7 separate regions of the Homo sapiens genome follow, and regions 1, 3, 4, 5, 6 and 7 are each linked to region 2. The links are contacts of gene promoters, found by promoter capture Hi-C in human tissues and cell types (Jung and others, 2019). All regions are on one chromosome and are shown on one strand. The core of a region is centred on a gene start or on the middle of the fragment in contact, and the rest is flanking DNA. Distances in the headings are between cores, read along the strand shown. Region 1 overlaps LOC107986167 (a long non-coding RNA gene). Region 2 holds the start of BCL6 (BCL6 transcription repressor). Region 3 overlaps TPRG1 (tumor protein p63 regulated 1). Region 4 has its middle 79 kb from the start of TPRG1-AS1. Region 5 overlaps TPRG1 (tumor protein p63 regulated 1). Region 6 has its middle 6.4 kb from the start of TPRG1. Region 7 overlaps LOC107986167 (a long non-coding RNA gene).

What was found. The method cuts DNA at HindIII sites, captures the fragments that hold promoters and counts their contacts. A contact is called where the count stands out against the background at its distance.
Region 1: a fragment that was not itself captured here is called in contact with the fragment with the promoter of BCL6 in region 2 in 1 of the 25 tissues and cell types used here (lymphoblastoid cells).
Region 3: a contact is called between a fragment that was not itself captured here and the fragment with the promoter of BCL6 in region 2, in 1 of the 25 tissues and cell types used here (thymus).
Region 4: a fragment that was not itself captured here is called in contact with the fragment with the promoter of BCL6 in region 2 in 1 of the 25 tissues and cell types used here (liver).
Region 5: a contact is called between a fragment that was not itself captured here and the fragment with the promoter of BCL6 in region 2, in 1 of the 25 tissues and cell types used here (heart right ventricle).
Region 6: a contact is called between a fragment that was not itself captured here and the fragment with the promoter of BCL6 in region 2, in 1 of the 25 tissues and cell types used here (heart right ventricle).
Region 7: a fragment that was not itself captured here is called in contact with the fragment with the promoter of BCL6 in region 2 in 1 of the 25 tissues and cell types used here (liver).

What each region holds. Positions count from the first base shown.
Region 1 is chr3:189,088,893-189,091,592 of GRCh38, forward strand. All of the region lies in intron 2 of LOC107986167 (a long non-coding RNA gene), which reads right to left. It also overlaps a transcript of TPRG1 not described here. Among named protein-coding and RNA genes, the nearest start is that of TPRG1, 82 kb to the right of the region's middle. The HindIII fragment of the contact is 4,895 bases long and covers 1-2,700 here.
Region 2 is chr3:187,744,069-187,746,828 of GRCh38, forward strand. BCL6 (BCL6 transcription repressor) reads right to left here and starts at 1,400. Exons shown (of 10, transcript NM_001706.5): 1 at 1,342-1,400. It overlaps BCL6-AS1 (BCL6 antisense RNA 1), which reads left to right. Exons shown (of 2, transcript NR_173091.1): 2 at 1,176-1,958. RefSeq lists an enhancer at 513-1,038. The HindIII fragment of the contact is 4,851 bases long and covers 1-2,751 here.
Region 3 is chr3:189,258,459-189,261,158 of GRCh38, forward strand. All of the region lies in intron 4 of TPRG1 (tumor protein p63 regulated 1), which reads left to right. Among named protein-coding and RNA genes, the nearest start is that of TPRG1-AS2, 19 kb to the left of the region's middle. The HindIII fragment of the contact is 8,541 bases long and covers 1-2,700 here.
Region 4 is chr3:189,025,173-189,027,917 of GRCh38, forward strand. It overlaps a transcript of TPRG1 not described here. Among named protein-coding and RNA genes, the nearest start is that of TPRG1-AS1, 79 kb to the left of the region's middle. The HindIII fragment of the contact is 3,207 bases long and covers 1-2,745 here.
Region 5 is chr3:189,185,938-189,188,637 of GRCh38, forward strand. The region is part of intron 1 of TPRG1 (tumor protein p63 regulated 1); the gene reads left to right. Among named protein-coding and RNA genes, the nearest start is that of TPRG1, 15 kb to the left of the region's middle. The HindIII fragment of the contact is 6,477 bases long and covers 1-2,700 here.
Region 6 is chr3:189,164,198-189,166,897 of GRCh38, forward strand. It overlaps a transcript of TPRG1 not described here. Among named protein-coding and RNA genes, the nearest start is that of TPRG1, 6.4 kb to the right of the region's middle. RefSeq lists an enhancer at 2,281-2,700. The HindIII fragment of the contact is 5,166 bases long and covers 1-2,700 here.
Region 7 is chr3:189,067,525-189,070,224 of GRCh38, forward strand. The region is part of intron 4 of LOC107986167 (a long non-coding RNA gene); the gene reads right to left. It also overlaps a transcript of TPRG1 not described here. Among named protein-coding and RNA genes, the nearest start is that of TPRG1, 100 kb to the right of the region's middle. The HindIII fragment of the contact is 9,097 bases long and covers 1-2,700 here.

The sequences.
Region 1 (2,700 bases), core at 24-2,523, 1.3 Mb after region 2:
CAATGAAGTCACTCCAAGCCCTAATGCTCTTCCTCTGTTTCTCTCCCTCTCTGTCAGATATATGTGTATCTATTGATATCTATCTATCTATCTATCTATCTATCTATCTATCTATCTATCTATGTATCATCTGTCTATTAATACCTTTTTACAAAAGGCACAACTAAGGCATTTGTTTTAGGATTTTTTTCATCTGTGTTCTTAAGTCCAATTGAATGATTACAGGACTAACAGTCTATAGTTTGATATCAGGATTTTCTACTGTTACAGAATCAAATGGGAAGCTGTCCATCAAAAAACACTGTGGAATGTTTTCTTAAAAATTTAATAGAATTCATCTGTAGAATCACATGGGATTCCTTTAACAGAAATACTCTGATTATTTTTTCAATCTTCTCTTCTGACTACTGGCTATTCTGGTTTTTCAAGATTCTTCTGTAGTCTATTTTGTATCTTTACTAAAACTAAGACATATTATCCAATTTGTCTAGATTTTCAAATTTACTGGCATAACTTATAAACAATATTCTCTCTTAACATTTTCAAAATCTGTTCCATATTGGTATTTTAGTCTATTTTCCACTGCTTATCATGAAATATCTGGAACTGGGTTATTGATAAGAAATTTATTTCTTACAGCTATGGAGGCTGAGAAGTCCAATGTCAAGGAACCACATCTGGTGAGGCCCTCCTTGCTGGTGGGGACTCTGCAGAGTCCCAAGGCTATACAGAGCATCACATGGTGGGGAGGCTGAGCAAGCTAGTTCATGTCTCTCTTCCTCTTCTTATAAAGCCACCAGTCCCATTATCATGATAATGCACTAACCCATTAACCTATTATTTCATCAATTCATGAATGGACTAATCCTTGATAATCAAATCACCTTTTAAAGGTCCCACCTTTCAATACTGCCCCATTGGGAAATAAGTTTCAACATGAGTTTTGGAGGGGACAAACATTTAAACCATAGCAACTGATAATAATATTTTTTATTTTGTTTGTCTTCTTTTTTTTATGAGATTTTTCCAGGAGTTTATCTATATAATTAGTCTTTTCAAGGAAGCAGCTATTGGGGTAATTGATTAATCCTAAAATCTATTATTTTATTAATACTTATTTTCTATGTATTACTTTTCAATAGCCATTGGATTTATTTCATTGTTATTTTATATAGTATTTTAAATTGAATTCATATTTAATTTATTTTCAGTATTTCCTGTTTGATAGTAAATGCATTTAAGAACATACGGATTCTTCTGAATATTACTTTAATACAAAGCTACATCCCCCAAATTTTGACGCATAGTATTCTTATTGTCATTTATTTCTAAATGGATTTTGACCACAATTATTATTTAAAATGTTTCAATATTTTCAGGTGGATTGTCATTTTTTGGAGAGGATGGATAATGTTTGTCGTTAATTTCTAACTGTACTGCTTTAAGATCAGAATCTCTGATCTATACGTAATTTTTGCTTCATAGCAGGCTGATAATAGGTCAGTGTTTATAGATATGCAAAGTGGAAAAAATATATATTGTTAATTAAATTATTCAGATCTGTATTTGCTTTTGATCTACTTAGGATGACGATTATTGAGAAAGATATATTAAGATATTTCATTGTTTTTGCTTTATCATAGTTTTTTATTTAGATATTTTGCATCCATTTTAATTAGGTATATAGAAGGTTAATGACAGCTTTATTCTCTTAATCATACCTTTTATCAATTTAAACAATTCTTTGATATTTAAAAAACTTTTCCCCTTGAGTTCTGCCTTTTATATTAACGTTAATATATCTACTATTTTCAACATTTACCCTATGTATCTCTTTAATGTTTTCATTTTTATCTTTTCTGGATCTTTCTGTTTTAGGTATATCTTTTATAATAACTTATTGCTAAGCTTTATTCTTTTCTTTAACAAATCTTTGTCTCTGACTTATAATAGGGAAATTTATTCCAAAGTCTTTGCTTTGATTAATGACGTTTTGCAATTGTTTCATGCATTTATGTTTTTAACTTAATGACAAGAAGCAGTGTAAAAGAATGTTATTTGCTCTGACTGGGAAACCCAGTTCTACCATAGTAGATATTTGACCTTGCTTAAATTACATATATTTTCTATGCCTCAGTTTCTTCATAAATTAAATGAGAATGATTATAATTATGCTCAATTCATTGACTTATTGTAGGGATTAAGGAAATGATTACATGTAAAATATTTAAAACTTTGCCTGAGAAAGAGTGTGTATGAAATAAATGTCAACTATCATTATGTGGCTTTTTTCTTTCCACTTGTATTTGTTCTCTCCACCCCCTTTCTTCTTCCAGTGGTTTGTAAACAGTGCATTTGAGTTTTATTGTTCTAGCAGTTACTTTGTATATGTGACAGATGCATTTTGAAATCAACTTTATTGAAATATCATTTGTATATAATATCATGTACCCATTTTAAGTATATATTTTGATGAATCGTGACAAATATATACAACCACTTAATTACCACCACAATTGAGATATAGGACATTTCCATCACATAGTAATAGCCTGTGTCATTTCCTATACAATGCTCTCCACACCCTCCACCTCTTTCCAATACCCCGTTAGTCATTGATATGCTTTCTGCCACTATGGATTAGATTTATCTTTTCTAGAGTTTCATATAAATAGGAACACATAGCAGGCAGTCTTTCGT
Region 2 (2,760 bases), core at 150-2,649:
CTGGCGTCCACTACGCTCAGGCCCGCAGTTCCCTTTTTACAGAGCTTGCACCATGGGAAAAAATAAAATAAAATTTAGGAAAGGGAGGCAACAGCCATTGGGAGCCAACACAGAGTCACGCAGCGCCCAAAATACAAACACCGCAGCGGCCAGAAATCCCGCCACCTTTCTCGTTCTCCCAGGCTGTCCTGTCGAGGTTCCCTGAGTCCCCCCGCACACTGAAAGGCATCGCAGGTGCAGTGCGCACCCCTTTCCCACCCACCCCAAGAAGCCCTGTCCCGCCATCAGTCTCTCTCCTCGGGATGAGCAGGGAGAGCGCGCGGAGGTTCCCGACTCCCTCGACTACAACCAAGAAAGAATAATTTTCAAAGTGTTCAACATCCCCGCCCCCAAGCTCCCCAAAACACAGGGGCAGGGAACACCAAAACACTCGGCTCTCATTAGGAAGATCACGGCTCTGAAAGGAAATAGTAGACACGATACTTCATCTCATCTGGATTTATGACCAAAAAAACAAAAACAAAAACCCAAAGAGTTCGCTTGCATTTTTTCCTTCCAAATCTCGGTTCGGCTCGAAGGCAGGGAATCTAAAAGACCGAGGCCGATGGAAGAGAGCCAGCGGGGCGAGCGAGCGGGCAGCCTCCCTTTTTGCCTCCCGGAGTTACCCAGAAGGACAGGGGAAGGGAAGGAAGAAGAGGCGAGGAAAAAGAGGAGGGAGGGAAGCGGAGGCCAGGAGCGACGGAGCAAGGAAAGCAGTTTGCAAGCGAGAAAAGAGGGAAAAAACACAGCCGCACGAATCCAGAGAGATCACAAGCCGTACGCAAGCAGCAGCAGAAAGAGCGAGAGCGCGAGCGCGCGTCCTCTCCGCGGTCTGGGGCCAGACAGCCCCCAGACTAGCCCGAATCACCCCCCAAGCACTGTCTCGTCCTCTCTGCTCCGGCCGCCCCCTAATTCCCCTCCTTCCTCTCCTCCACCTCCTTTCCAAAAACCAAAACAACACAAGGGAGGGTGGCAAAAGCCTCCCCAAACCGGCCGATTCACTCAAAGACAACAATAATAATAATAAATACATAACAATCTATATCCTATGGTGGGAGAGACGTGGGACTAATCTTCGGCATTTATTTTAACACCTGACAGCTAGAATAAATAAATATATACATTTATATCAATAGATACACATAGAAAACTTGGAGCCAAAGCATTTGGCAAGAGCGGAAAAAAAAAGAATTAAAAGGTAAAATAATGATCATGAGCAGCGGCGGCGGCAGCGGCACCAGCGGCAACAGCGGCGGCGGCGGCAGTAGCAGCAGCAGCGGCGGCAGCAACAGCAATAATCACCTGGTGTCCGGCCTTTCCTAGAAACTTCTTGCATCACCACTTCTAAGAACCCCAGTTCTAAGAATCAACAGAGCTCAATTCTCGGAATTTGAGCTTCGGACTTTACCACTGCTACGTGGCAGGGGAGGACTTGGTGTCAGCTCTCCGAGATTTTTACTGCCCCTGGCCAACCAAAAGCCCTCAAAGCCACAAGATTTTTTCACTGGCCGGCATATTTCGAGGTCCTCATAAGCAGAGCGTCTCGGATTTGGAGGTTCCGGTTCGAGGCTCGAGGGGCCTGAAGGTGGCTCTCCCTCCCCGGGCCCAAGACGATGGTATGGCCTGCTCCGCCACCATCACGTGGGCTCCTCCTCTGTGACGTCGGCGCCTTCGCTGTAGCAAAGCTCGGCCTCTGGAATTCTGAGAACTAATTTGCTATTCGGTGACATAAGAGGGGGAGTGCGCTTTGCTTTCCCGGGGTCTGGGGCTAATTCCTTCTTTCTTACCCATAAACTCAGCAGATCGAGCTAAATGCACAAAAGGGAGCGAGAGGTTTGAACCACTGGGAAAAGTATGTTATATATATAGTAGGGTTAGAGAGGCGAGTAAGAGAAAAATAAAATAAAATAAACATCACAGCTCTTTCCAACTAGAATATTAGGCACCACGAGAAAAATATTTGCCAAGCAGTTTTCGGTGGGTTCATTTGCTTTATTTTTATTTAGGACAGGGGTTTTTGCTGTTGTTCTGGGTTTTTTTCTTTCTGGTGTGGTGGCTTGGGATTTTTGGTTTCTGTATTTTGATGGTTTATGGATTTTTGCTTCTGATTTTTTGCCTTTTGCAAGTTTGTGGTGTTACGTAAATCACAGGATCGGCATCGGTTGGATTTTTTTGTACGTGCCTTTTCTTTCCCTATCTAATCCCTCAAGCGTTTTAAAGATGTATTATTTCAATACTAATACTATTGAAAGAAGCTTAAATTTTTGGCCATATGTAACAATCCCAGCCCCCACTTTTTTTTTTTTTTTTTCCTTTGGTGCAATTTTCTTTTTCCCCCTTGGACTTTTGCTGAAGTGTGTCTCTCCTGCACTTCAGAGAAATGTTCAAAGGATTTGTTTTGGTTTGGTTTGTTTCTTTCCAGGACAGCAAGTGGTGGGTTTAATCTGTTATTGTTGACTCTTGGGAAATTTCTTGTTGCAAGAAACGTGTGTGTGGGGGGGAGGGTGGGGGTGGCGGGGTGGTATGTGTGTGTTTTCTACAAAATTCTGTGAGCCAAATACCTGTTTGTGTTTTGTTTTCTCTTAAGGTCTTGAGATTTTTGTTTTCGAGGCTCGTTTCAAGGTCGTTGTAAAAAAATCTCTTCAGTCTGTGTTTAAGAGATCAGCCGGAGGGAATTCTAAAGGCCTGCCGTGCCAGTATCACAGATACTGCCTGTATTTA
Region 3 (2,700 bases), core at 59-2,558, 1.5 Mb after region 2:
CCCCATCAGGAGGCATGGGGGTCAGGGACTGACTTGAGGAGGCAGTGTGTCCCTTGGCAGAGCTCAAGCACTGTGCTGGGAGATATGCTGCTCTCGTCAGAGCTGGCAGGCAGGAATGTTCAAGTCTGCTGAAACTGTGCCCACAGCCGCCCCTTCCCCCAGGTGCTCTGTCCCAGGCAGATGAAAGATTTATCTATAAGCCCCTGATTGGGGCTGCTGCCTTTCTTTCGGAGATGCCCTGCCCAGAGAGGAGGAATCTAGAGAGGCAGTCTGGCTACAGCAGTTTTGCGGCGCTGCAGTGGGCTCCATCCAGTCCGAACTTCCCAGTGGCTTTGTTTACACTGTGAGGGGAAAACTGCCTACTCAAGCCTTAGTAATGGTGGACGCCCCTCCCCCAACCAAGCTCAGTGTCCCAGGTCGACTTCAGACTGCTGTGTTGGCAGCGAGAATTTCAAGCCAGTGGATCTTAGCTTGCTGGGCTCCATGCGGGTGGGATCCACTGAGGAAGACCACTTGGCTCCCTGGCTTCAGCCCTCTTTCTAGAGTGAACAGTTCTGTCTTGCTGTGTTCCAGGGACCAATGGGGTATGAAAAAAACTCCTGCAGCTAGCTTGGTGTCTGCCCAGATGGCCTCCCAGTTTTGTGCTTGAAACCCAGGGCTCTGGTGGTGTAGGCACCTGAGAGAATCTCCTGGTCTGTGGGTTGTGAAGATCGTGGGGAAAGCGTAGTGTCTAGGCCAGAATGCACCATCCCTCATGGCACAGTCCTTCATGGCTTCCCTTGGCTAGGGGAGGGAGTTCCCTGACCCCTTGGGCTTCCCAGGTGAGGCGACACCCCACCCTGCTTCTGCTTGCCCTCTGTGGGCTGTACCCACTGTCTAATCAGTCCCAATGAGATGAACTGGGTACCTCAGTTGGAAATGCAGAAATCACCCCTTCTGTGTTGATCTTGCTGGGAGCTGCAGGCTGGAGCTATTCCTGTTCAGCCATCTTGCCCAGGAATCCCTTTTTTTTTTTTTTTTTTTTTTTACGAAGTCTTGCTCTGTTGCCCAGGCTGGAATGCAGTAGTGTGATCTCGGCTCACTGCAACCAACCCCCACCTCCTGGGTTCAAGTGACTCTCCTGCCTCAGCCTCCCAAGTAGCTGGGATTACAGGTGTCTGCCACCACACCCTGATAATTTTTTGTATTTTTGGTAGAGACGGGGTTTCAGCACGTTGGCCAGGCTGGTCTCAAACTCCTGATCTCAAGTGATCCACCCGCCTGGGCCTCCCAGACTGCTGGGATTATAGGTGCAAACCACCATGTCTGGCCTATTTGTTTTTTATGCCCATAAGAAACAACAGTGAAGGAACTGCAATTCTGAGTGGTTGAGTGACTTGTATGCAATCGTGGAAACAGATGATGGTAGCATCTGAAACATGAAATTCTCTGATTTCACCTCCTCCTCTGCCTTTGTCATGTGCCTAATTCTTACTTGTTCTCAAATGCATTGTAATTTTTGATGGTCACTAAGCCCCATTTCTTTCCCCATATTCTCATCTGAACTCTAATGAGGAGATAGAATATAGACAGTTTAAGGCTTAAAGACCTTGTTCTGAAGTCGGGCTGACAGGGAGTCAATCCAGATTTCCCTCTGGGTGACCTGGAGCAAGTTACTTAACAATCCATGCGTCGGTCTTCCCATTTGTAAACTGGAGGGAGGAGGGGAGGGTTGGATAATAGTATCTCTCTTATTGGTCTGTGTTGAGGGTTCCATGAGATAATATGGGTAAAATGCTTAGAAGAACATTTGGTATATAGTAAGCATTTGAATTACGCAAGCATCTTTAATAGTTTTGGTAGAAAGACCTTGGTTTAGGATTCAGGGACCTGGGTCCTGATACATTTTCCTGATATAAGTCCCCTCCCCTTGCTGAATCTCCTCTTGCTAAATTTCTAAAATCTCTAATTTTTCTTTGTATTGAATCCTATACCCTTGTAGTACTATATTAGTGTAGCAATTTTCCAAAAGCCATTCATCTTAGAGGGCTAAATGATTTTACCTTATCAATTCCTCCTGTGAAAAAATATCTCTAAAGAGGTTTTCTGCTGGAAAATATTGTTGCTGTCACATTGATATGCCAACAAAAGCTAAGCAGGGAGGTCAGGCCAAGAAATATCTCCCTGCAAGAGAAGGCATCGCACATGTATCTCTCCATGCTATTTAAATTTGCATTCTGCAACATAGAAGGGATAGGCCATGCTGCAGAAGCCAGGTCCAGGAAACTGCTTTCTTTGGCCTTTACACATCCTTTTGGAGAGATGCTGGTGAAAGCAGCAACTACCATCTGCCTCCTGTTGACTTAGTGTCAGCAGGTGGAGGGAGGAAGGAGGGCATCGCAGACATCATTCTATTATCTCAACCTTGCTTTCTCGGATCCAAAGGCCAAGAAGTTGCTGCTCCATGCCCTCAGAGCTCTAATTTGGCACCTCTTCCTGAAATGAGAGCTTGAAAGGGCTTCTGCTCTGGGTGAAACCGGCTCGTGGCCCGGGCCAATTCTGCTGGCTTCGCGTCTGTCAGTGTGTCCTAATCACTGTTATAAGTGTGGTTCTGCGGAACATCTTGTAAAATATTTTCCTATTGCTCCAGCAACATCTCCTGTCTAGACAATCTAATTATGAACACAGAGCAAATAGCTGAAGTGTATGCCGCCCCCAAGG
Region 4 (2,745 bases), core at 231-2,730, 1.3 Mb after region 2:
CTAGACTCCACACAGCTCTGTGTGTTGGACCCAAGGCCCTGGTGGGGTGGGCTCATGAGGGGATATCCTGATCTGAGGGTTGCAAAGATCCATAGGAGAAGTGTGGTTTCCAGGGGTCACACATTCACTCACTGCCTCCCTTGGCTTGGGGTGGGGGTTCCCTTGGCTCCGTGTTGCTCCTGGGTGGGCCACTGCCCTGCCCTGCTTTTCTCCATTTTCTCTGCATTGAATTGCTTCCCTGATCAGTCCCAATGCGAGTCCCTGGATATTTCAGTTGAAGGTGCTGTATTTACTTGCTCCCTTTGTTCCTCTCCCTGAGTGCCATGCAAGTTAACTGCTTCTAATCAGCCATCTTGTCTCCCTCCTTAATAATTCTCAACTGGCTTGTGGATGTATCTTCTCAAGGGTGCTGATAAAATGTGAGCAGTATACTGAAGCGAATTGTGTGTGGTATGATAGTGTATTCACTCTAATGGTTGACATGTCCTCTGAAATAAGGGGAAAAACAAGGAGTAACTTGCTGACACTGAGAGGAAAGAGACATGGAATAATCAAGCATGTGCCTGCTTTCTGGAATATTCTCTAGGGTATAAGAGAATGTTGTCTTTTGAGTATCTAAGAAAGCATTAACAAATCAGTTGACATATCTACAGTGAAAAAAATAATAACTTCATGTTGAACAGTGATCCAGAAAAAGTGCAAAATGGTGGATGATTTTTAAACATTCAGAGATACAGTTCTTCCTCAAAAGAGATGTGTTGTTATTAATCGTGACTTTTTTCAGTTTTTTAAAATATTTTTAGGCCCTTATTAGTGCATCACCAAAATTTATAGGCTTCACAGTCATTGAACACAAGGTTGAGAATCCCTATTCTAAGGAGTGAGGGAGAGTGTATTAGTTAGCTCGAGCTGCCACAACAAAATGCCACAGATTGGGTGTCTTAACAGACATTTTTTTTCTCACTATTTTGGAGACTGAAATTATGATGCTAACAGGGTTGGTTTCTGATGGGGCCTCTCTTCCTGACTTGACAACTGCCTCCTCCTCACTTTGTCCTCATGTGGTCTTTTCTCTGTGGAGAGAGAGAGACAGTGAGAAAACGACAGAGAGAGAGAGTGAGCTCTGGTGTCTCTTCTTCTTCTTATAAGGACATCAGTCCTATCAGATTAGGGAGCCAGCCTTCAGATCTCATTTAACCTTAGACCTCTTTAAAGATCTAAATCCAAATACTGTCACATTGGGGGTTGGATTTTGACATATGAACTTTGGGGCCACACAATTCAGTCTATAACAGGGAGCAAGTGATTTTTGCACATTGCTGGGCAGGTGAGGTTTATACTAGCCCTGGTATTGGGGAAGTTTTTTCTTTCCACATGGACGAGAACATTGAGATGGAAAAATCAAAACCATGTTTTGGGAATGGCAAGTAGGGTTTAAGCTTAGCTGGAACATAAGATTTGTGCAGGGAGAGATTTAGAATATTAGTTAGAAAAGACATATTGAGGTGAAGTTGTAGAGTCTTGGAAAAGCAGAATGGGGATGCATCACTTGATTTGGGAGGACAGCTAAGAGACACTAATGAGTTTTGAGCTGAAGAATAACATGGAACGAAGCTGTGCTATAGACAGTCACATTGGCGAAGGATGGATTGAAAGACGAAGGAGTAAGATGGAGGCAAGGAGCCCAGGTAGGAGGCAACATGGCGTGTTTGTTGAGAGCATTGACTCCACACCCAGGCTGTCAGGTCTTAAACATGACTTGTGCCACTTATATATATCAATAACTTTAGAAAAATGTCTTTATTTTTCTGAGCTTTTGATTTTTTGTAAGTAAAATGTGCTGATCAATGTGTTAACAGTATTAGATGAGTCAATATCTGTAGGGTGCTTAGAAAAATACCTTGCACGCAATGCTATGCAATTGTTTTCTTGTGCAGTGAAGGTGGGAAAGCACTAGAGAAAAATTCCAAATCAACACTTTCTTCTTTCCTTGACCAACCTTAAAATAAGAGTTTTTCAGTTAATAACTTCTGTGGTGTCTACTACATTTGTACCTCAGGCCTACTTTTGTAAACAATTAGATTTTCACTCAGCCTGCCTCACTCTGACCCTGCCAAAAGAAACCAAAATACCCCACCAGTATTCAGAATGCCTACAAGCAATCAATAAATCCTTTGCTTCTAAAAGATGCAGCTGTTCTAAAAGTTTACATCTGGACTAAGTAAGGTATGTAAATAGAAAGTCAGAACTATGCTGAAAATCTCATTTTTCTGCATTCAACTTGAACAACCAGACTGTAATGAACCAAAACACCATAAAGTCTATGTAGAAATATAAATACACGCATGGTGTATGCAAGACAAGCCCACAGGGGCAATATTATTGTGATTAAAATATGGCTAGGTTGAATTTCTTCACTAGGTTTTCAAAGGCATACAAAATTATGTTTTTATGTATCCAATGCTGTATTCCGTGCTGCTTGGTGGATGGTATTTGGACTCAGTTTGAGTTAGTCTATGTTTTGGATGAATTATGCAAAATCCCCAAATCATATGTTTTGTAAACATAAGAAAGGAAGTGATTCCAATGGATAGGAAAAGTTGTTCCAAATTGGAAAAATGGAAAATCAGGGCCAGATGGAAGTGTGTTGGAAGGCTTAAAAGCAATAGCATTGTGAACAGTGAGCATGCATTCCCTCTTATGCCTTGATGTGAAGGAAAAACTTATTACCGATTCCTGAGAACT
Region 5 (2,700 bases), core at 193-2,692, 1.4 Mb after region 2:
TTTCCAAGGATTGTATTATACTCCATGATAGATGTGCATACCTCATGTGATACAATAAGAACCTTTAATTTTAAATATTTCCAATTTAAATTTGATCCTTAAGTCATTAATGCTTCTACTAGGCTCTAAGCTTTAGGCAGCAAGTTATTTTTTAAAAATTTATCTTTGTAGTTGTATAGTCAATAGACAAAGATAAAATCTTTGTTCTATGTGAGATAAACACTAAATGGAAGTTTTCACTATGTAAAAAATCCAGAAAGCTATGACTGGGTTATTTCATAAACTGGAGAAAAGTCAATGATGACCCGAAATGTTGTGATTGGTGAGGGTGAGAGGGGAATTTTTCTTGGATTGACCATGTCTAGCTGGAAATTTGCCCAGGGTACGAAGGCTGGTCCTCTCTGAAGTGCTGATCTCATTGCTGGGAGGGAACAGCTAATGAAACCAGACAGAAAGTCCCTACCATTCGATGTTTTTTTCCTTGTTGAATTAAAACAAAACAAAACAAAAAACCTAGTAACTTGTTTTTTCTGATTTCCTACCCTTGGTGCTCTTAAAGACGCAATTTTCTGCAAACATTTAACCATGAACTAGCACCTTTTGACTTACAGTAGGATAAAAATGATAAAAATAAATATATTCCGGCTCTTTTAGTCTTATTGATTTGGTATTTGACCTGTTTTATAAATGACCTGTAAGAGCTCCATCTTGTATTAGAATGAGGGCTCCACACCAGACCTGAGTAGATTCCTAGACCAGCATAATTAGAGAGAAAATTGAGATGGGGGCAAGTAGTTCAGTATTCTCCTAGTACATATGAAAAAAAAAAAGATAGCTAGAGAAGAAATGGATTAATGGATTATACTTGAACCTGGATTTCCTGATGCCTACTTCTTCAGGAATTCCCCACTATCGCTAGATTTCATATATTCTGCTCACAATTGTTCAGATTCCTCTAGCATAGATTCAGTCAATTATTAGACTTCAAACTGTTTTGAAATCCTATCATATTTTCTAGGCCTTTAGATTCATTTGTTCATCTAAAGTGTTTTTTTTTTTTTTTTTTTTTGAGATGGAGTCTCACTGTCACCCAGCCTGGATCACAGTGGCACCATTTCGGCTCACTGCAACACTTGCCTCTCAGGCCCAAGTGATCCTCTCACCTCAGCCTCCTGAGTAGCTGGGATCACAGATTCGCACCACCACACTTGGCTAATTTTTTGTACTTTTGGTAGAGACGGGGTTTTGCCATGTTGCCCAGGCTGGTCTCAAACCACTGGGCTCCAGCGAGCCTCCTATCTCAGCCTCCCAAAGTGCTGGGATTACAGGCATGAGCCACCCCGGCCAAGTTCATCTAACTTTTTTTTGTTTGTTTTTTGTTTTTTTTGAGATGGAGTCTCACTCTGTCACCCAGGCTGGAGTGCAGTGACACGGTATTGGCTCACTGCAACCTCTGCCTCCTGGGTTCAAGCGATTCTTCTGCCTCAGCATCCTGAGTACCTGGGATTACAGACCCCGCCACCACGCTCAGCTGATTTTTATTTTTTTTTTTTGTATTTTTAGTAGACACCAGGTTTCACCATATTGGTCAGGCTGGTCTCAAACTCCTGACCTCGTGATCCACCTGCCTCGGCCTCCCAAAGTGCTGGGATTACAGGCGTAAGCCACCGTGCCCAGCCTCATCTAATTCTTATACTGTCCTGTAAGATGTGTGGATCTACTTGACATTTGAGAAAACTGAGGCTGAGGGGTTTAAATTGCCACTCAAACTCAGGTAGCTGGTAAGTTGCAGAGCCCAGATTCAAGCTCAAGTCCTTCTGACTCCAAAGCTTTCTCTAATATGCTGGTCTATTTTGTGATAAAGGTATTGATTGCATGAAATGAATCAATTTTTATCTGAATTGCTTCTTACCCATTATCTTCTGAAAGCGTTGACGTAATTAATTCTCGAAACATTTGTGTCTTTGAGTTGTAGTGAATAATCTTGATATATCACCCACAATGTTGTATGTAAATCAAAAGTAAAGACATATTTCAGGCTCCAACGGAGGAAGTTATAATAAGTTGTCTGGTTCAGCAACTGATTGGCTGAACTCCCAAATGGAGTGAAAGCTCAAAAACTGAAAACAAGCAAGAATTGAACTTCTGCAGAAGTCAAAGAAATAAAAAGAAAAGATAATTGAAAAAAAGAAAAACTGTTCAGTGCAATATAAGTAATGTTACCTCTACTAGAGAACAGATGCATTTCAAGAAACACTGACATCAGAAAATTCATTCGAGAGTTAACAGACGTGAGTACCTTTAGGGATGTGTGCTGGGACATGGATTCCCTTTGGCCAGGCATTTTCTTTTGACCTCTTCTCAGAGAAAGGTGAGTTATGCTATGACTTCTAGCCCATTTGGCACAATGAAAGAGTAAAGGTGGAAAATATTTTACTCTGTTTTGTTTCAGACCAGCATTTTTGAGCCTGGCTTGTGTTGGGGCCCAAGTTCTAGGTCCGATGGGTGTGGAATCACTCGTCTGGATAGCCTGCCTTTACTATCCTGTCTCCCAGCCCTATGTTTAAAACAGTCACTGCCATCCTTCCCTTTTCCTCCTCCACATCACTTGCTGTAGTCTTTTGCTATAAGACTAGAATTTCTGCCAAGCCCTGTCCAGTCCATCTATAACTAAGGGCTTTGTTCTCAGATCTGTTCATT
Region 6 (2,700 bases), core at 131-2,630, 1.4 Mb after region 2:
TGTCACCCAGGCTGGAGTGCAGTGGTGCGATCTCCACTCACTGCAACATCCACCTTACAGGTTCAAGCGATTCTCCTGCCTTAGCCTCCTGAGCAGCTGGGACTACAGGTGCCCACCATCATGCCTGGCTAATTTTTGTATTTTTGTAGAGACGGGGTTTCACCATGTTGGCCTGGGTAGTCTTGAACTCCTGATCTTAGGTGATCCACCCGCCTCGGCCTCCCAAAGTACTGGGATTACAGGCGTGAGCCACCAAGCCTGGCCCCTACTTTTTTTCTTAAATTGGGACAATTTTTGGCTCGAAACACAGTTGTGAAAACCTAGGATACTAGCTTCTTTGTTCATTATCTACTTTTCTAGTCATTGCATTTGTTATTCTTTTTACCTCTTTTGAAAATTGAAATAAGCTAAAAAAAAAAATAAAAGCTTCCCTTTTTTTTAAAAAAAAAAGGTATCTGAAATTTCACAAAGTATGCTGGCATCACAGCATTCCATGAATATTTAATCATCATCATCAAGACAGGAGGTTGGAGAAAAAAATCAGGTTGTGATATTTGGGAACAGCAGGTGTGGGAAGGAGGGTGTTGACATCCTCTGAAAACGGATATGGCATGTTGTGTGGCAGGTTCCCTCCACAGCTCCCATGTCCCCCTGGGGTCCCAAACGTGCTTTAAGAAAACTCTGAGGAGCTGGAGCTTGTCCTCAGCCTTCATGTGGCAGAGTATCCCTGGAAATGGGGATGGGCTTTGCTGAACTCCTTTCCTTCACAAAAACCTCCACGATTTCTCTTTTCTGGGCCTTTGTACAATGTAGCTAGCTCCAGCCCCCATCTCTGTGCATTTTTACCCTTATTACTGTTGTTAAGCAAGAACCTCTTTCATGTGTAGTAAGTCAGCAAGAGTACAGATATCCAGCTATGAGGATTTGGGATGGAGGGTAATGAAACTTTGAGTTTACCTAGGAACGTTTATATCATACAGTGAGGAGCAATGTAAAAATGAAAGAATCGTGGGTCATTCATGTACAGATTACTTGCCTTCTAACCTTACCACACCCTCAACTTTGCCTGCCGCCCAGTGTTCCAGACACACAGGTTTTACTGCTGTTTCCTTACAGCAAGACTGATTCACCCTACAGGTTCTTGCCCCTGAGCTTTTGTACAGTCTATTCTGGGTTGGAGTTTTCTAAATGACTGTCACGATAGATGGAGAAACTGTAACACTCTGGTTCTCAAACTTTTATGTGCATAACAGCCATCTGGCAAGGCTTGTTGACATGGAGATTTCTAGGCCTACCCCCAGAGATTCTAATCCAGTAAATCAAGGGGCCTGGGCATGTGCATTTTTAATATGAGGTTCTCAGGCAGGTGTCCAGGGACCTGCGCATCAAATGCTGTCTTCGGGGTGAGAGGCTCTTTCTGGACACTAAAGGCTGCCCTGGCATGAAGATCCAGGCTGATACTGGAGTCATAAGCCCTGGACTCTGGGCCTGTCTTTGATTCAGGCTGCTCACTGCACTGGGGGTGGGACTATTATTTGTGTGACAGTGGAGTAAGTTTTTCCCCTGTGGACCCCAAAGATGCAGAAAGGGGGAAAGAATCCAAAATTACTGCCAAGAGGTGGAAACTGCTCACCGTGTGATTCAGGTGGCCATTGAGTGTTGCCAATATGGAAAATCTCTTAGGCTACAGGAACAGAGGCAGGGCTGTAACTGGTCAGGGACTAAGACAGACAAAAGGAAGATTCCCTCCCTCTCCCCAGGTGATTTGGGCTCTCTGGAAACCCAGAGAGCAGTCGCAGTTCAAAAGAAATCATCAAATGTCAAGACAGAATCACTGAGTAGAGTCCCCAACAACATAATAAAGATGAAAATTAAACATAAACTTCTTGGCTAAGCATTCCAGACCCTCAATAACATGGCCTTGGCCTTAGAGGCCACCATTTCCCTTTAAACTTCAGACATTCCAAGAGAACAGAGCATTCAGTGTCTTCAAATGGGAATTCAAGGGACTGTGTTGATAGATGAGTGCCATAGGATCTTCCTCTCTGGTTCAACTCCTATGGTCCAAACTCAAGTTTTTGAATTGAACTGTTTTGTTGTTTTCATTACGTTGCCATGCCAACTTAGGTTCTAGAGTGTAATCTTACTTTAAAAATCAATCCTTAAGTGGGGACACTGACATGGAGGTGATAACAGTTTGATACTTAGTAGCATAGAATGACAACCTAGAAGAGACCTCACTTTGAGCACGTCCAAACTGCTTTAATTTGCTGACAAGGAAGCCAAAGGATACCGAGGGAAACTTGCATAAGGGTATACTTGACCGAGCACACCCAGGGAGTTAGTCAACTAGGGAAGTAACTCTCCATGCCTACAGAGAAATGCATAATACCTTTTATCCTAACTAGTATCCCTGATACTTTCCTTGGTGTCTCAGCGTTTCAAAAGCCTATCTTATTTGCATTGTAATTTATCACTAGCTCTTCGTTTGTGTGTTTAAATTTTGTCAAGGTTCTTCTTCCTTCTTTAATTTCTTCCCTGATGAGACATGTAAAATGCCTCAAGCTGTTAGGAGAAGAACTTTAGGTAGGAAGAAAAAAATAATCCAATGGTAATAGTTTCATCTTACTGAGGTTTTTAAAGATCAGGGTCATTTTCAATTTAATTCGACCATATATTGGGTATCCGAGTCTGCCGGTG
Region 7 (2,700 bases), core at 138-2,637, 1.3 Mb after region 2:
AGTGAACTCTTTCTCAACAAAGGTATCGAGAAAATACACGGGGGAAAAGACAGTCTCTTAAGTAAGTGGTGGTGGGAAAACTGGATATCCATATGCAGAAGGATGAAGCTAGAGCCCTATCTCTTCACATATGTAAAAAAAATCAAATCAAAATGGATTGAAGGCTTAAATGTAAGACCTCAAGCTATGAAACTACTAAAGGAAAACATTGGGGAAACTCTCTAGGACATTGGTCTGGGCAAAGATTTCTTGAGTAACAACCCATAAGCACAGGTAGTCAAAGCAAAAATGGACATGTGGAATCATATCAAGTTAAAAAGCTTCTGCACAACAAAGGAAACAATCGACAAAAAGACAACCCACGGAACAGGAGAAAATATTTGCAATCTATCTGGCTGACAAGGGATTACTATCCAGAATATAAAAGGAGCTCAAACAACTCAATAGGGAAAAATCTAATAATCTGATTAGAAAATGGACAAAAGATCTGAATAGACTTTTCTCAAATGAAGACGTACAAATGGCCAACAGGTATATGAAAAGGTGCTCAATATCATTTATCAGCAGAGAAATGTAATTCAAAACCACCGTGAGATATCATCTCACTCCAGTTAAAGTGACTTTTATCCAAAAGAGGCAATTGCTGGCAAGAATGTGGAGAAAAAGTAACTGTCATACACATTTGATAGAAATGTAAATTAGTAGAGCCACTATAGAGAACAGTATGGTGGTTCCTCAGAAAACTAAAAATAAAACTACCAGATGATTCAGCAATGCCACTGCTGGGTAGATATCTAAAGGAAATGAAATCCGTATGTTGAAGAGATAATTGCACTCACAACATGCGCTATTTGCAATAGCCAGGATTTGGAATCAACCTAAGTGTCCATCAACAGATGAATGGATTAAAAAAAGATGGTACATATACACAACAGAGTACTAGTCAGCCATAAAAAAGAACAAGATTCTTGGCTGGACGCAGTGGCTCACGCCTGTAATCCCAGCACTTTGGGAGGCCAAGGTGGGTGGATCACTAGGTCAAGCGTTTGAGATCAGCCTGGCCAACATAGTGAAACCCCGTCTCTACTAAAAATATAAAAAATTAGCCAGGCGTGGTGGCGGTCGCCTGTAATCCCAGGTACTCAGGAGGTTGAGGCAGGAGAATCGCTCAAACCTGGGAGGCGGAGGTTGCGGTGAGCCGAGATTGTGCCACTGCACTCCAGCCCGGATGATAGTGCGAAACTCTGTCTCAAAAAAGAGAAAAAGGAAGGAAGGAAGGGAGGGAGGGAGGAGGGAGGAGGGAGGACAAGTTTCCATCATTTGCAACAACGTGGAGAGAACTGGAGAACATTATGTTAAGTAAAATAAGCAAGGGACAGAAAGACAAACTTAGCATTTTCCACTCATTTGTGGAAGCTAAACGTTAAAACAATTGGATTCATGAAGGTAGAGAGTAGAATGAAGGTTACCAGATGGGCATTTATTCAGAGAAATGAAGACCTATGTTTACACAAAAACCTGTATATGAATATTTATAGATGCTTTATTCATAATAGCCAAAACTGGAAACAATTCAGATGTCACTCAGTGGGTGAATAGCTAAACAAATTGTTACATCTATATCATGAATTACTGCTCAGCAATGAAAAAATCGCTAACTTCCCATGTGTACAACAGCCTGGATAAATCTTAAGAGAATTATGGTGACTGAAGGAAAAAAGCCAATTCCAGAAGTTATATTTTATAATTCCATTTAAACAACTTTCTTTAAAATACATACTTTTAGAAATGGAGAACAGGTTAATGGTTACCAGGGATAAAGGTAGGAGTGGGCCAGACGACAGTGAGTACAGCAAAAAGGGAAACATGAGAGATTCTTTCGGTGATGGAACTGTTCTGTATCTTGACTGTATCAATGTCAAAATCTTGGTTGTGATATTGTACGATAGATAGTTTAAGATCTTACTTTTGGGGGAGACTGGATAAAGGGTACATGGTATTTATCTATATTATTTTTTACAGTTGCATCTAAAGGTATAATGATCTAAAACAAAAATGTTTAATAAAAAAAGAAAAGCCCTTGCAAATACCACATGACCCAGAAATTTCAGTCTTGGGCATTTAGTCCAGAGAAATGACAACTGACATTCCCACAAAATGTATACACATGTTCATAGCAACTTTCTTCATAATAGCCCCAATCTAGAAATAGCCTAGATGTGCTTCAACAGGTAAGTAGTTAAACAAACTGAGGAACATACATACTATGGAATACTACTCCACAATACAAAGGAAAAACAGGCTGGGCGTGGTGGCTCATACCTGTAATACCAGCACGAGGTCAAGAGATCGAGACCATCCTGGCCAACATGGTGAAACCCTGTCTCCACTAAAAACACAAAAATTAGCTGGATGTGGTGGTGCCACGTGTCTGTAGTCCCAGCTACTCGGGAGGCTGAGGCAGGAGAATCGGTTGAACCTGGGAGGTGGAGGTTGCAGTGAGCAGAGATCACGCCACTGCACTCCAGCCTGGTGACAGAGCGAGACTCCATTTCAAAAAAAGAAAAAAAGGAAAAACAATAAGAAATACACACTGCTTGGAAGAATGTCCAGTGAATTCGACTGACAGAAATAATTTCAAGTTACATACTGTATGATTTAATTTATATAACGCTTATGAAATGACAAAATGTTAGAAAT